Regions from separate parts of the Homo sapiens genome. Here region 2 is linked to region 1. The links are contacts of gene promoters, found by promoter capture Hi-C in blood cells and fetal thymus (Javierre and others, 2016). All regions are on one chromosome and are shown on one strand. Each heading gives the region's core, a stretch centred on a gene start or on the middle of the fragment in contact. The rest is flanking DNA. Distances are from core to core; before and after follow the strand shown. Region 1 holds the start of RAB4A (RAB4A, member RAS oncogene family). Region 2 overlaps ABCB10 (ATP binding cassette subfamily B member 10).

Evidence for each region. The method cuts DNA at HindIII sites, captures the fragments that hold promoters and counts their contacts. A CHiCAGO score of 5 or more calls a contact.
Region 2: a contact is called between a fragment that was not itself captured here and the fragment with the promoter of RAB4A in region 1, in 3 of 17 cell types (total CD8 T cells, non-activated CD4 T cells and naive B cells). The highest score is 6.4, in total CD8 T cells.

Annotation. Positions count from the first base shown.
Region 1 is chr1:229,266,197-229,272,495 of GRCh38, reverse strand. It overlaps RAB4A (RAB4A, member RAS oncogene family), which reads right to left and starts at 1,385. Exons shown (of 8, transcript NM_004578.4): 1 at 1,126-1,385. The coding sequence starts at 1,156. It overlaps RAB4A-AS1 (RAB4A antisense RNA 1), which reads left to right and starts at 1,342. Exons shown (of 2, transcript NR_149313.1): 1 at 1,342-1,520. RefSeq lists silencers at 844-1,003, 1,044-1,573. The HindIII fragment of the contact is 1,493 bases long and covers 406-1,898 here.
Region 2 is chr1:229,526,236-229,532,056 of GRCh38, reverse strand. It overlaps ABCB10 (ATP binding cassette subfamily B member 10), which reads left to right. Exons shown (of 13, transcript NM_012089.3): 7 at 326-421; 8 at 1,649-1,858; 9 at 4,749-4,828. Among named protein-coding and RNA genes, the nearest start is that of NUP133-DT, 21 kb to the right of the region's middle. The HindIII fragment of the contact is 278 bases long and covers 4,134-4,411 here.

The DNA of each region.
Region 1 (6,299 bases), core at 136-2,635:
TTGGATTAATACTGCATTCCCTCAATAGACTACGCTCCATGAGACCAGAGCCGTGTCTGCTGTGTTTCTGCAGGATGTACAGCCCTCCCAGCACGGTGCTCGCTTCCCTAATGCCATTCCACAGTATTTGTTGCAGAGAAGGAAGCAGCATGCCAGGACAGATGGAGACAGGACTAATTTGGCTTGAGGTATGTAATTTTGAACTTGAGCCTCTCTCTGGGACTGTAAAACTCCAAATCAAAGTCTTAATCTGAGAATACATACATCTGAAAGAGTGATTAGGGACTGGTAAACATCTATTAATATTCAACTCTGATACAAAGTACAAGTTGTTTATTCTTACCACGCAAGGCCAAAAAAGGGGAGAAAAAAAAAAAAGCACACAGCATATGCACTGGGAAAGCTTTCGCTTATTCAAAACAGTATTTGTCAAGCACCTCCAGGTCTGGGTGCTGCAGGGGAAACAAAGATTAAACAGCCAGGGCTTTGCTTCCAAGGTGCTTACGGTCTTAAGAAGGAGACAAGACATGTTTATAAATAGCCAAAATGCAACCCAGAAAAGGCTAAAAAACACTGAGAGGGAGGGAGAAATAAACGAAGCAAGAGGTCTCCGGAGGAAGAGATGAATGAATTAGCCTATTAATAACTCCTCACTGTAATCCCAATGTAAAGCAAGGAATTCCAAACCAGGAAAGGTCAAACTGAAGTATTTGAGGAACACAGGCGTCGCCCTAAGCCCTTCACAGGCTCGCTGGGGATAATATCGCAGCTGAAACCGAACATCAAGCTGGCTTTTCAAACCTTCAGTTATTTACATTAGACTGAGAGGGGAAAAGCGCTAAGAGTGCAAGAGCAGAGAAAGAGCAAGAGGAAACTTGAAAAGGCGGATCACGCCAATGCGCTGTGCACAGCGCCCCCGCGCCCCGCGCACCCGCTACCCCACCCGAGCCCCCAGCGGCCCGCGTCCCCCATCCCGGTCCCAAGCCCAGACACCTCCGAGATCCGTCCCCCGGCTCCGGCCGGCGCCACCGCCACCCTCAAGACCCCCGCAGCCCAGGCCCGGCCCCGCGCCACCGACGCCCCCCGCGGCCCGACCCGCGCGCCCCGCCAGCCCGGGCCTCGTACCGTAGGTTTCGGACATGGCCGTCTGCGACATCTTGGGAGCGGCGCCGCCTCTCGCCGGGTCACCGGCTGCACTCGCCCGCGGTCCGCCGGCGCGTCTCGGTGGGGAAGGACCTGGGGCGGGGGACCGGAGGAGGGAGGGGCCCGACCGGTCCCCACGGCAACCGCCGGTCTCCCAGCGGCTGCGGCCCAGCCGGACTCCAGCTCCGCGCAGGCGCAGGGCCCTCCACCCTCCGTCCGGCCGCGACCGCGAGGAGGAAGAGGAGATGGGCTACGCGAGGCCCGGCCCACCCCGCGTTCGCGCGTGCGCACGGGGAGGCCGGGGCGGGGCGCGTGAGGACTTCGGCGCGCGCCGGAAGCACGTGCGCGGGCTGGGCGCTCTGGCGGTGTGCGCTGAGGTGGGCAGAGCGGCAGGTGGGGGCGTTGGGGGCTGAGTCCCGATTTCCCTGAGGGAGGGTCGGGTAGAGGCGGGCGGTGGGCAGGTTTGGGGGTGACAGAGGGCTGGGGACAGTGGGGTCCAGTTGCCGGACAGAGGAGGAAGGTGCCCGCACTGGGGAGGAAAGCAGTCCATTTGCCAAATTGGCCCGTCTCAGTTAAGACGTTGTCTTCGGTCATCATCTGCGGCTGTCAGCCAGGAAAAAACTTCCCTGACGCTGTTACGATGGAGGCCAGAACTTGGTTAATGTGTAACAAGGAGGCAGTAGGCCCCAGGTGTCCAGCCAGAGGCCGCCCTGTGAATGGGAGGCAGGTTCATTTACCCGTTGGGAAGCTAAGCTTTCACTCCAAACTGCCGGGCCCTCTTGGATGGAGCTGAGCGGGTGTGGGCGGAATGACAGAAGCGCAAGATGCCCAGGTGCTAAAAGGTCATCGCAAGACTACAGGCTGCAGCCTCTCCACATCCCATTTTAGAGGGTTCTGGATTACGGTTGAGAAGTATCTCCCGGCCCTCAGCTGGGGATGTGTTTCCAAATTTAGGAGTTTTTTTAATTTTTATTTTTTAACAGGGTCTGGCACTGTCAGCCCAGCCCAACCGATTCTCCTGCCTCAGCCTCCTGAGTAGCTGGGGCTAGGGGCTCACACGACCACACCGCGCCAATTTTTAAATTTTTTGTAGAGATGGGGTCTTGTTATGTTGCCCAGGCTGGTCTTGAACTCCTGAGTTCAAGCATCCTCCCTCCTTGGCCTCCCAAATTGCTGGGATTACAGGCATGAGTCATCTCACCTGGCCTTGGATAGTTTGGTTTCAGAAGCAAAACTGAGTTAGAATCCCCTTCTGTGGGAAATGTAGAGATAAACATTTATGGGAAAGAGAATTTTGGTTGAGGATTTGGCCCATCTGAGCTTGATCAGGGCCACATAGCGCCTCATAGTTCCCAACCTTGTTCACAATAGGTAGTCGAATGCTCAAAATATCCTTGGCTAAGCTCCCAAGTGACCTGGACTGTGTGGAAAATGCCAGTACATACTTTTGTGTGTGTGTGTGTGAGTCAGTTTGGCTCCATCCTCCACATAAATTGGCATCAGAGCTTCCCTCTTCCCCAGTGGCTATTTGGGTCGGTATTTTTCTCTTGTCTCCGATCCTAATAACAAATAAATGCAGTTTTTTCTAAATCACAGAGAAGGCCCCATGGTGAAAAGTTGTGACAGCTGTAATTCCTAAAACTGTTTTATATATATTTCTTGTTCAGTGGCTCAGATCATTTGTTGCTTTCTTGTTTGTCTCTCTGCATGTCGTGTTTGATTTAGGCTCCTGAGTATAACAGATTGGTTCTGATTAAAACCATTTCAGAGGAAAGACAGTGATCCCAGGAAGCGGGAAGAAAACAGCATCACCTGAAGTTATTCCTATTCGTTAGATTTGTTTTCTTCCTGCGAAAAACTGCTATGTACAAGAAAGAAGTCAGTGAGCTGCAGTGATAGTTAGCATTATTGACTGAAACTGGACCAGAGATCCCTGAAACCTGGACAAGGTGGTAGAAATACAAATTATGCTGCCATTTCAAAGCTGTGGGCAGTTTTCTACTTTGTGGAAAATGAAGACTTAGGTAGGCCTTTGGGAAAGACGATTTGTTTTGGAAAAACCACCCAAAGGGATCATTTGGTTTGCAAATGTAACTGCAGTATCACAACTGGAAGAAGAAATATACAAGGGCGAGGTTTGAAGGAGCCCTTCAGTATCCTTGGATGATACTGTGGAAGATTCTTTGCATCTCAGTAACTTTGGATCTTTGAAGATCCAAGAAAATAAATTTCTTCAAAATATTTTTAGAGACTGCTTTGATTCTGAGGCACTGCTGATTATATGGAAGAAAAAAATATTGGAAGATTAATTTGTGGTTTTCTCCAGTTATCGTCTCCCTTCTCTTTGGGGGAGGTTTGTGACGCAGTAAAAACAGATATACAAAAGCCTAGGCATGTTAGAGATTTGCCTAAGGGAAATGTAATTATGAAGAAGGATTTTTTCAAGCTGAAACTAGATCCCACTTTTTTCCAGGTCAGTGGGTCCTTCAAGTATCTGGTACTTTCCTTCCTGCTTCCTGACAATGTTAAAGAATGTGGCATGACCTTACATTTAATGCCCAACGTGAGGAGCCCTGGGGCTTGATGCATGAGATTCTTGGAGCTAGGCCTGGTGGAGGGCACTGGTCACAGCCTCGGTGGAATGGTGACTTTCTTTGGTAACTGGAATTGAAGAAAATGAGTGGACTTGTGTCTGAGCACTTGGGAACTCAGCAATCCCTGGGTGTTACCTTGAGAAGGAGCCAAATTCCAGACATACAAGTGGAGACTTGAAAATGGAAGCTCAATTCCACACCCAGGCTGGTGGAGACTATGACATATAACTCACATCTTCAAGAAAGTAGACACCTCAGAGGTCACTGGGCCACTTTACCTTCCACTGTCAAAACTATGTCCATGATCAGATACCTCTGTTGCTAGGGAATATTCAGTCAGAATGGGCTAGATTAACTGCAGTAATGCAGATCTCTCAACCCATTTATGACTTACGCAGCAAAGTTCCTCGCTCAGACTACCTGTCCACTCCCACGAGCAGAGACTTGCTCATGGGCCCTCCTAGACCCAGGCTGACCGAGTGTGTTTTATCTAAATGCATCTCCACAATCACTCAGGTAGGAGTGGCTATGCATTAGGACTGATTGTGCATTAGTTAGAGAAGCACTTACCAGGAATTGCTATAAGAACTTCTATTTACATTTCATGGGCCAAAGCAAGTCATGTGGCAACACTTAATTTCAAAGAGGACAGGAAATGCAATATTGTTATGTCCCTGAAAGAAAGGAGAAGAGAAAGTCTATGGAAAGACATTATGACTACCACTGGAATTTTCACCTGTCCAGGCAGCTCATCGTGCTTTTATTTGAAACAATTTTATTGAAGTATAGGCATAACTGCACATACGTATGTATTTATTTTATTTTATTTTTTGAGATGTAGTCTTGCTTTGTTGCACAGGCTGGAATGCAGTGGCGTGATCTCAGCTCACTATGACCTCTGCCTCCCGGGTTCAAGTGATTCTCCTGCCTCAGACTTCTGAGTAGCTGGGATTACAGCCACGCGCCACCACACCTGGCTAATTTTTGTATTTTTAGTAGAGACGGGGTTTCGCCTTGTTGGCTGTGCTGGTCTCAAACTCCTGACCTCAGGTAATCCGCCTGCCTCAGCCTCCCAAAGTGCTGGGCAGCCTCCCAAAGTGCTGGGATTACAGGCGTGAGCCACCGCACCTGGCCTGCACATATTTAAAGTGTACATTTTGACAATTTTTAATATATATGTACGCTTGTGCTTGCTGCTCCAGGGGACCGCTATTTCTAGGCCTTTTCAGTGGACAGAGGCATTTTTGTGATTGTTTTATCTCATTTGTCACTTAGGAAGAATAACTTCTTGTGAGGTTTAGTGGTGGTTTTGGGGTTGATAGTATAGGTCTTCATCACAGTCCACCTCCAAGTGATAATACACTACTTTATACAGAGTATAAGAAACTGACAACCATTTGCTTCCATCCTCCCCCAGCATCTGTGCTGGGGATGTTGTACTTCTACATATGTTGTACACCCACATACATTGTTATTGTTTTTACTTAATAAGCTACTAATTCTCTGTCTCTCTTTTCCTTTTAATTGTGGTAAAATAGACATAAAATGTAGCAACTCAGCCATCTTGAAATGTACAGTGGCATTAAATATATTCCCATTGTTGTGCAACCATCACCACCATCCATCTCTAGAACGCTTCATGTTGCAAACCTGAAACTCTGTACCTGTTTAACAACAACTCCCCATTCACTTCTCCCCACAGTGCCTGGCAACCACCATTTTACTTCCTGTCTAGGAATTGGCTTCTCTAGGTACAGTACCTCATATAAATGGAGTCATACAGTATTTGTCTTTTCCTCACTGTCGTATTTCACTTAGCATAATGTCCTCAAGATTCATCTGTAACATTGTAGAATGTGTCAGAATTTCCTTCCTGTTTAAGACTGAATACTATTCAATACTTTGTACATATATACTGCATTTTCAGCCAATTCTTTTCAATAGATTTAAACAATAAGAAAAAAGTGTTTTATATTTACTCACATAGTTACCATATCTAAGACTCCTTATTCTCTTGTATAGATTAGATTTCCATGGTCTCATTTCCCTTTTGTCTGAAGGGCTTTCCTTGACAGATCTTGAAGTGTAGATCTCCTGGTGACTAATTCTTTCAGCTTTTATATGTCCAAAAAAGTCTTTATTTCACTTCTGTGTTTGAAGCTATTTTTGCTCAATTTCGATTTTTAGGGTTTTCAATTTTTTTTTTCTAACATGAAGATACTGTTTCAGTGTTTTCTGGCTCATTTTGTTTCCGATAAGGAGTGAACTGCCATTCTTATCTTTATTTCTTTTATGCAACGTGTCTTTTATCTCTGCTTGGTTTTAAGATTTCATCTGTATCACTAGTCTGAAGCAATTTGATTATGATGTGCCTTGGTGTTGATTTTCTTTAAAGTTCTTGTCCTTGAGTTTCACTGAACTTCTCTGGTCTTTGAGTTTATAGTTGCTATCAGATTTGGAGTTTTTTCAGCCATTATTTCTTCAAATATTTTTTTCTGCCCCTGCCTCTCCTTTCCTTTGGCGATTCTACTACACAAATATTAGATCACTTGAATTTGTTTC
Region 2 (5,821 bases), core at 3,023-5,522, 260 kb before region 1:
CACTTGAACTGGGGAGATGGAGATTGCAGTGAGCTGAGATTGTGCCAGTGCACTCCAGCCTGGGTGACAGAGTGATGATCTGTCTCAAAAAAAAAAAAAAAAAAAAAAACTATGAAACTGGAGGAGGAGAAGCCAAAGGAAAACTAGAGTATGAGACAAGCAATTCTGAGTATCAGTTCCCAGGAAGCTGCCTCAAGTTGTTTTTTGAAAATATTAATAACAGATTTTATATTAAAAGCAATCATTGTCACTCCTCTCAGAGGAGTGGTGGCCAGTGCCAGTGCCAGTGATGGACATGTGTGTGGATTCTGCTTCTCATCCTCAGGTCTGAGCTCTTTCTACTCGGAGCTGATGAAAGGACTGGGTGCAGGGGGGCGCCTCTGGGAGCTCCTGGAGAGAGAGCCCAAGCTGCCTTTTAACGGTGGGTCTGAAAATTGTTTCTTTGCTAGGATTAACAAATGTGGCTTTGAACAATGAGACCAGCTCTTCCCCTGTCTGCAAGGGAGTGAGGGATGAGCCACAGTAAGGATGTGGCTCCTGCTGCATGGCGGGCCGGGTGAGGAGGTGGTCAGGTTTTCTATGAGAGGGGGTGGGACAGCTGCTGGGGCACTGTTGTGGGCCAGGGTGTCCCTGGATGCATGGGCTGGCCACATAGTGTGCTGCCCTCTGTTCCCCTCCCTCCATCTGGGTGTTACCGCAAAGGGCAGGATGGAAGTCAGTGTGGCCCAGGGCTGTGTCCCAGCTAGTTTACCAAATTGATCTTCCCTAGTGATTCTGACATCTCTGTGGAGGGCTAGGGTGGGAATAAGGGAGGAGGAATCAGACATAAGAAAATATCTAAGTTTCTTGGCATTTTGGTGTGGGGTAGGGGAGGCTGGTACTCATTGGCTGGAGCCATCTCCTTCCTTATCAGTGACTTCCCTGGAGCTGTAGGGCCTAAACCAACTAGCCAGGAATCAGGAGAAATGGCTATGAGTAGTAACCACTCCCAGCTGCTTATTGACTTCCTAGGACATTGTCAGGTAGCCCCAGGTCCATAAATGAAAGCCCAATATTCTCCAATGTGATAGGCCTAGGAAATAGGTCCAGCTGAGAGAGTTTCAGTAGTGTCTCCCAAAGCACAGTAGGTGAACACCAGGGCAGAACAGACCTCTGACCCCTCCAGTTCTGCGGCTGCTGTGCAGCGCTCCCCGTTTCATCATAACTCTTCCAAAATATTTATTCCGGGTAGGTAAGATAAACTCTGGAGCTACACAGAGGCAGTGGCATAGAGAGAAGGCCATCGGATTTGAAACCAGACTAACAAGGGTGGATCTTAACTCCACTACTTGTTAGCTTAAGCAGGTTGTTGTCTGTGGTCTTCAATGTCCTCATCAGCAAAATTGGAATTATAATTTCTACCTCTCAGGGTTGTAAGGATCAAGTAAGACCGTCTACGTATATAGTACCTTGGACATAGTAGGTGCAGAGTTGGCACGTGGTAAGCATTTAGCCTAGGTTTGCTTCTGACTTGCCCTTTAAGAGCTCATATACCAGGATTAGCTGTGGTGGAGTCACCCATCCATAGCCAGATGAGTAGGAGAACCGAGTTCAGCTTTTGAGTTTAATTTTTTGCTGTAAGTAATTAATATTCCATTTTATGTTTCAGAGGGGGTCATCTTAAATGAGAAAAGCTTCCAGGGTGCTTTGGAGTTTAAGAACGTGCATTTTGCCTATCCAGCTCGCCCAGAGGTGCCCATATTTCAGGATTTCAGCCTTTCCATTCCGTCAGGATCTGTCACGGCACTGGTTGGCCCAAGTGGTTCTGGCAAATCAACAGTGCTTTCACTCCTGCTGAGGTTGTACGACCCTGCTTCTGGTAAGCAGTTCACCACACTGTAGCACCGAGGGACTCTCCCGAGCTCTGCTCCCACTTTTGCGCCCTAGGAGATGCTCAAACCATGCAAATACCTTATTTTGTAGAGTACCTTCTTTTCTAAGTGCCAGTGGAAAGAAATCCCTCAAACAGAAGGTGTCATTTGCAGGGGCATGACAGCTCATACAGAGGCCTTTAGAGCTTTTTGTGTGTAATGTGTCCTACCTCTTCAAGCCCAGAGTGACTTCCCCAGATCTACCTCCTCATCTCCCATGCGGGTATCTCCTCTGGACATGCCCTCTACTGGGAGCAGGTGGACGAGGCTGTGCTCAGCAGCCAGGACAGAGTGCCTGGGGTGCTCCAGCAGCACCCTGGAGAACCACCGTGTGCCAGTGCGCGTGCTGGGCGCAGGAGTGATAGGGAGCTCCTGGAGAACCTCTGCCTCTGCCTGTGAGCCATTGAATGCTTATTGTGCACACAGTTAACTTGGCCATCAGTGATTCACTTCTTTTTTTTTTTTTTTTTTTTTTTTTTGAGACAGTCTTGCTCTGTCGCCCAGGCTGGAGTGCAGTGGCGCGATCTCAGCTCACTGCAAGCTCTGCCTCCTGGGTTCCCGCCATTCTCCTGCCTCAGCCTCCCGAGTAGCTGGGACTACAGGTGCCTGCCACCACGCCCAGCTAATTTTTTGTATTTTTAATAGAGTTGGGGTTTCACCGTGTTAGCCAGGATGGTCTCGATCTCCTGACCTCGTGATCCACCCGCCTTGGCCTCCCAAAGTGCTGGGATTACAGGTGTGAGCCACCGTGCCTGGCCAGTGATTAACTTCTATGTGACTGTTCCATTGAAACTATTTTGACCTAGTAGGGATTTTCTTTTTTTTTTTTTTTTTTTTTTTTTTTTTTTTTTGAGACGGAGTCTTGCTCTGTTGCCCAGGCTGGAGTGCAGTGGCACGATCTCAGCTCACTGCTGCAAGCTCCGCCTCCCGGGTTCACGCCATTCTCCTGCCTCAGCCTCCCGAGTAGCTGGGACCACAGGCGCCTGCCACCATGCCCGGCTAATTTTTTTTGTATTTTTAGTAGAGATGGGGTTTCACCGTGTTAGCCAGGATGGTCTCGATCTCCTGACCTCGTGATCCACCCTCCTCAGTCCCCCAGAGTGCTGGGATTACAGGCGTGAGCCACCGCGCCCAGCCGGGATTTTCTTAATGGATGATTTTTCTCATTCTAGTTTTTATTTTATTTTTAACTGGATTATAACATCTTTAAGAGCAAAGAGCACATGATTTTACTTCTATCTTCCCTGTAGTAGACAACAATGTCAGCAAGCAAACAACTCTTAGTAAAAATCAAATCATGAATTTAGAAAGAATATTTTGGCCAGATGTGGAGCCCCACACCTGTAATTGCAACACTTTGGGAGGCTGAGGTGGGAGGATCACTTGAGGCCACAAGTTGGAGACCAGCCCGGGTAACATAGTGAGACCCTGTCACTATTTATTAAAAAAAAAAAATTCTGTAATTTAAAAAATGAATGTTTTGTGTCTTTGTGCTTATGCTTTTTGGTTAAAACAATGTGAGAGCTGGTTACATGTCAGATAAATATGTGACTTGCAAATCCTGACCCATGGAATCACCACCTGTGTTAAAATGGGGCTTACTACATTGTTTGTCTCTGGAATCACTTTCTTGATTCACCATTCACTTGCTATAAAATTTGGAGTTTAAAAAAATCCTAGTTAGCTGGGCACAGTAGTTCACACCTGTAATCTCAGCTCTTAGGGAGGCAGAGGTGGGAGGATAGCTTGAGCCCGGGAGTTTGAGACCTGCTTGGGCAATATAGTGAGACCTTGTTCTCCATAAAAAGGAAAAAAAAAAAAGACCAAAAAAAATCCTATTTAGGTTGCTGTAATTCAAGTAAAAATACTGAGTCTCTAGTTTCTTCATCACAATGAATAAATCCAGGACAAAGCAAACTGCAGTTAAATGTCTGCCATGTGTAGTCTATAAAGAGCTTTGTGCTTTTTCGTCAAAGACCTCAAGTTTTTGCCAGTTTGTGAACATTTCCAGCTGGCTTCTATAATTCCACAACATTAACTGAGAAGAAATGGCATTTCTTATGCTGTCACTGTTGTCATCATCACCAAGTTTTGTTGAGCACCCTCAATGTGAAGAATTCTGTTAGCAAAAGTCATAAAGATAGCGTCTGATTATTTAAAAGCTCTGCCATGGTATCGACCAGATTCTTAGTTGCAGACAACAGATTCCTCACCAACTAAGCTTATTACAGAAAGGGATATTTTAAGGAGTAATAAAAGAGCTCAAAAATCACTGGCAGGAATGACAAAATAGATTCTAGATTGTACTTCCAGGACAGTTTGCAGAACTCCACCCCAGAACCAGGCCTTCAAGGTAGCTGCTGACACTGGCATGGTCAGGAAGCTACAAATTTAGGCAGTTGCTGTCATGAATGCCAGCTTCAGAGCTGTGCCACCTCTGCCAGTATTCGTGCCAGCAAGTGGATGCCTCATGGCTTGCCCCTCCCTTCTGAATTAAAGCTTTGCACAAGTGCATCTTATCGGTGGAATCCTAAGTCACTAGGGAGTTTTGGGAAAACTCCCTACAACCTCCGGAGTACAGGAAGGCAAGCTGGACAGATGGACTCGGTGAGATAGTCATCCAGCTACTATCGGGAGACAATAACTTGGACAATCCAGAAAGTCCCTTTTAGCTCTGAAATTTCATGAAATATGTTAGTTTTAGAGTCCATCTGGAGATTTTCAGTACATTTTGATCTTTAAAAAATGAGTCTGGAATTTTCCCACCGGATCCTTTCTGTGTTGGTCATCAGCCTCATCACACTCAGTGACTCTTTCCTTTCCTTTCCTCTCAACAAGGAACTATTAGTCTTGATGGCCATGACATCCGTCAGCTAAACCCAGTGTGGCTGAGATCCAAAATTGGGACAGTGAGTCAGGTAAGAAGAGAGGCTTCCATTTCTATTTCACTTTCTTTTAAAATTACTTTTGTCTTTTGCTTTTTTTTTTTTTTGTCTCGAACTTCTCAAGAGAGAAGGAATGGAAGTCTTTGGGATGTATTAAGCTCATCTCACATGGCAGGTTGTTTAGGTTTGCAAGTAGCGCTGTTTCCTGAAAACCCTAAATGTTTGAGCAAGGGTGAAGCATTGACTTTTTATTGAAAGCTGGAGACTACCATTACTAGATAGTCTAGAGGATGGGGAGGAAATGATAGAAGATTTTATTGACTCTTTTTTAGCTTTTACTGATTCTTCCCCACTTCCCATTTTCATCACCAGCCACAGTCTACTATTCTGCATAATGAGTTTCAGGGAAAAGTGAGCAAAGACTATGGCAAGAGCCAGAGTCCTCCTTGCAAAGAAGTTGCAGATTTCAAAGCAGAGTGTTAATGTAATGTGGTCACTTTGATAAGGCCATTTTCACAAGACCCTTTGGGGCAGGGAAATGTTGCTGCAGCTGTTTTAATTTTTATTACCAGGCTGTGCACACAGCATACAAACCTGAGCCTCCCCCCATTTCTGAACCTCTCTTTGTGATTAGCTCATCCTCTCCCCACTCCACTTGGGTGAGGGCAGGTGGATGGTGATGGGTGCTCAGGAGTGTAGGGACATCAGTGGTGTATATGATTAGGGATGGAGAAAAGAGCCTGGAAGTTTGCTTATTTTTTAGGACTACTCCATAGGGTTCTGTCAGAATTGTTTGTTCCCATGTGGTTTGTGTGTATTTCAAAAAGTAATGGATGGAGATGGATTCCCCGCTTTGTCCTGAGTGGAAGGCAGGCAGCTGGAAAATGCAGGTGGACTTGGGGTCTCCTGGTGCCTCCTGATTCCTAAGGCAGGGGACTGACATTTACAAAGTTCCTACCATGTGCCAGGTGCCTTGCGGGCACCTGCTGTGAGGTCTCATTGCTTGCAGCATGGTGAGAACTACAG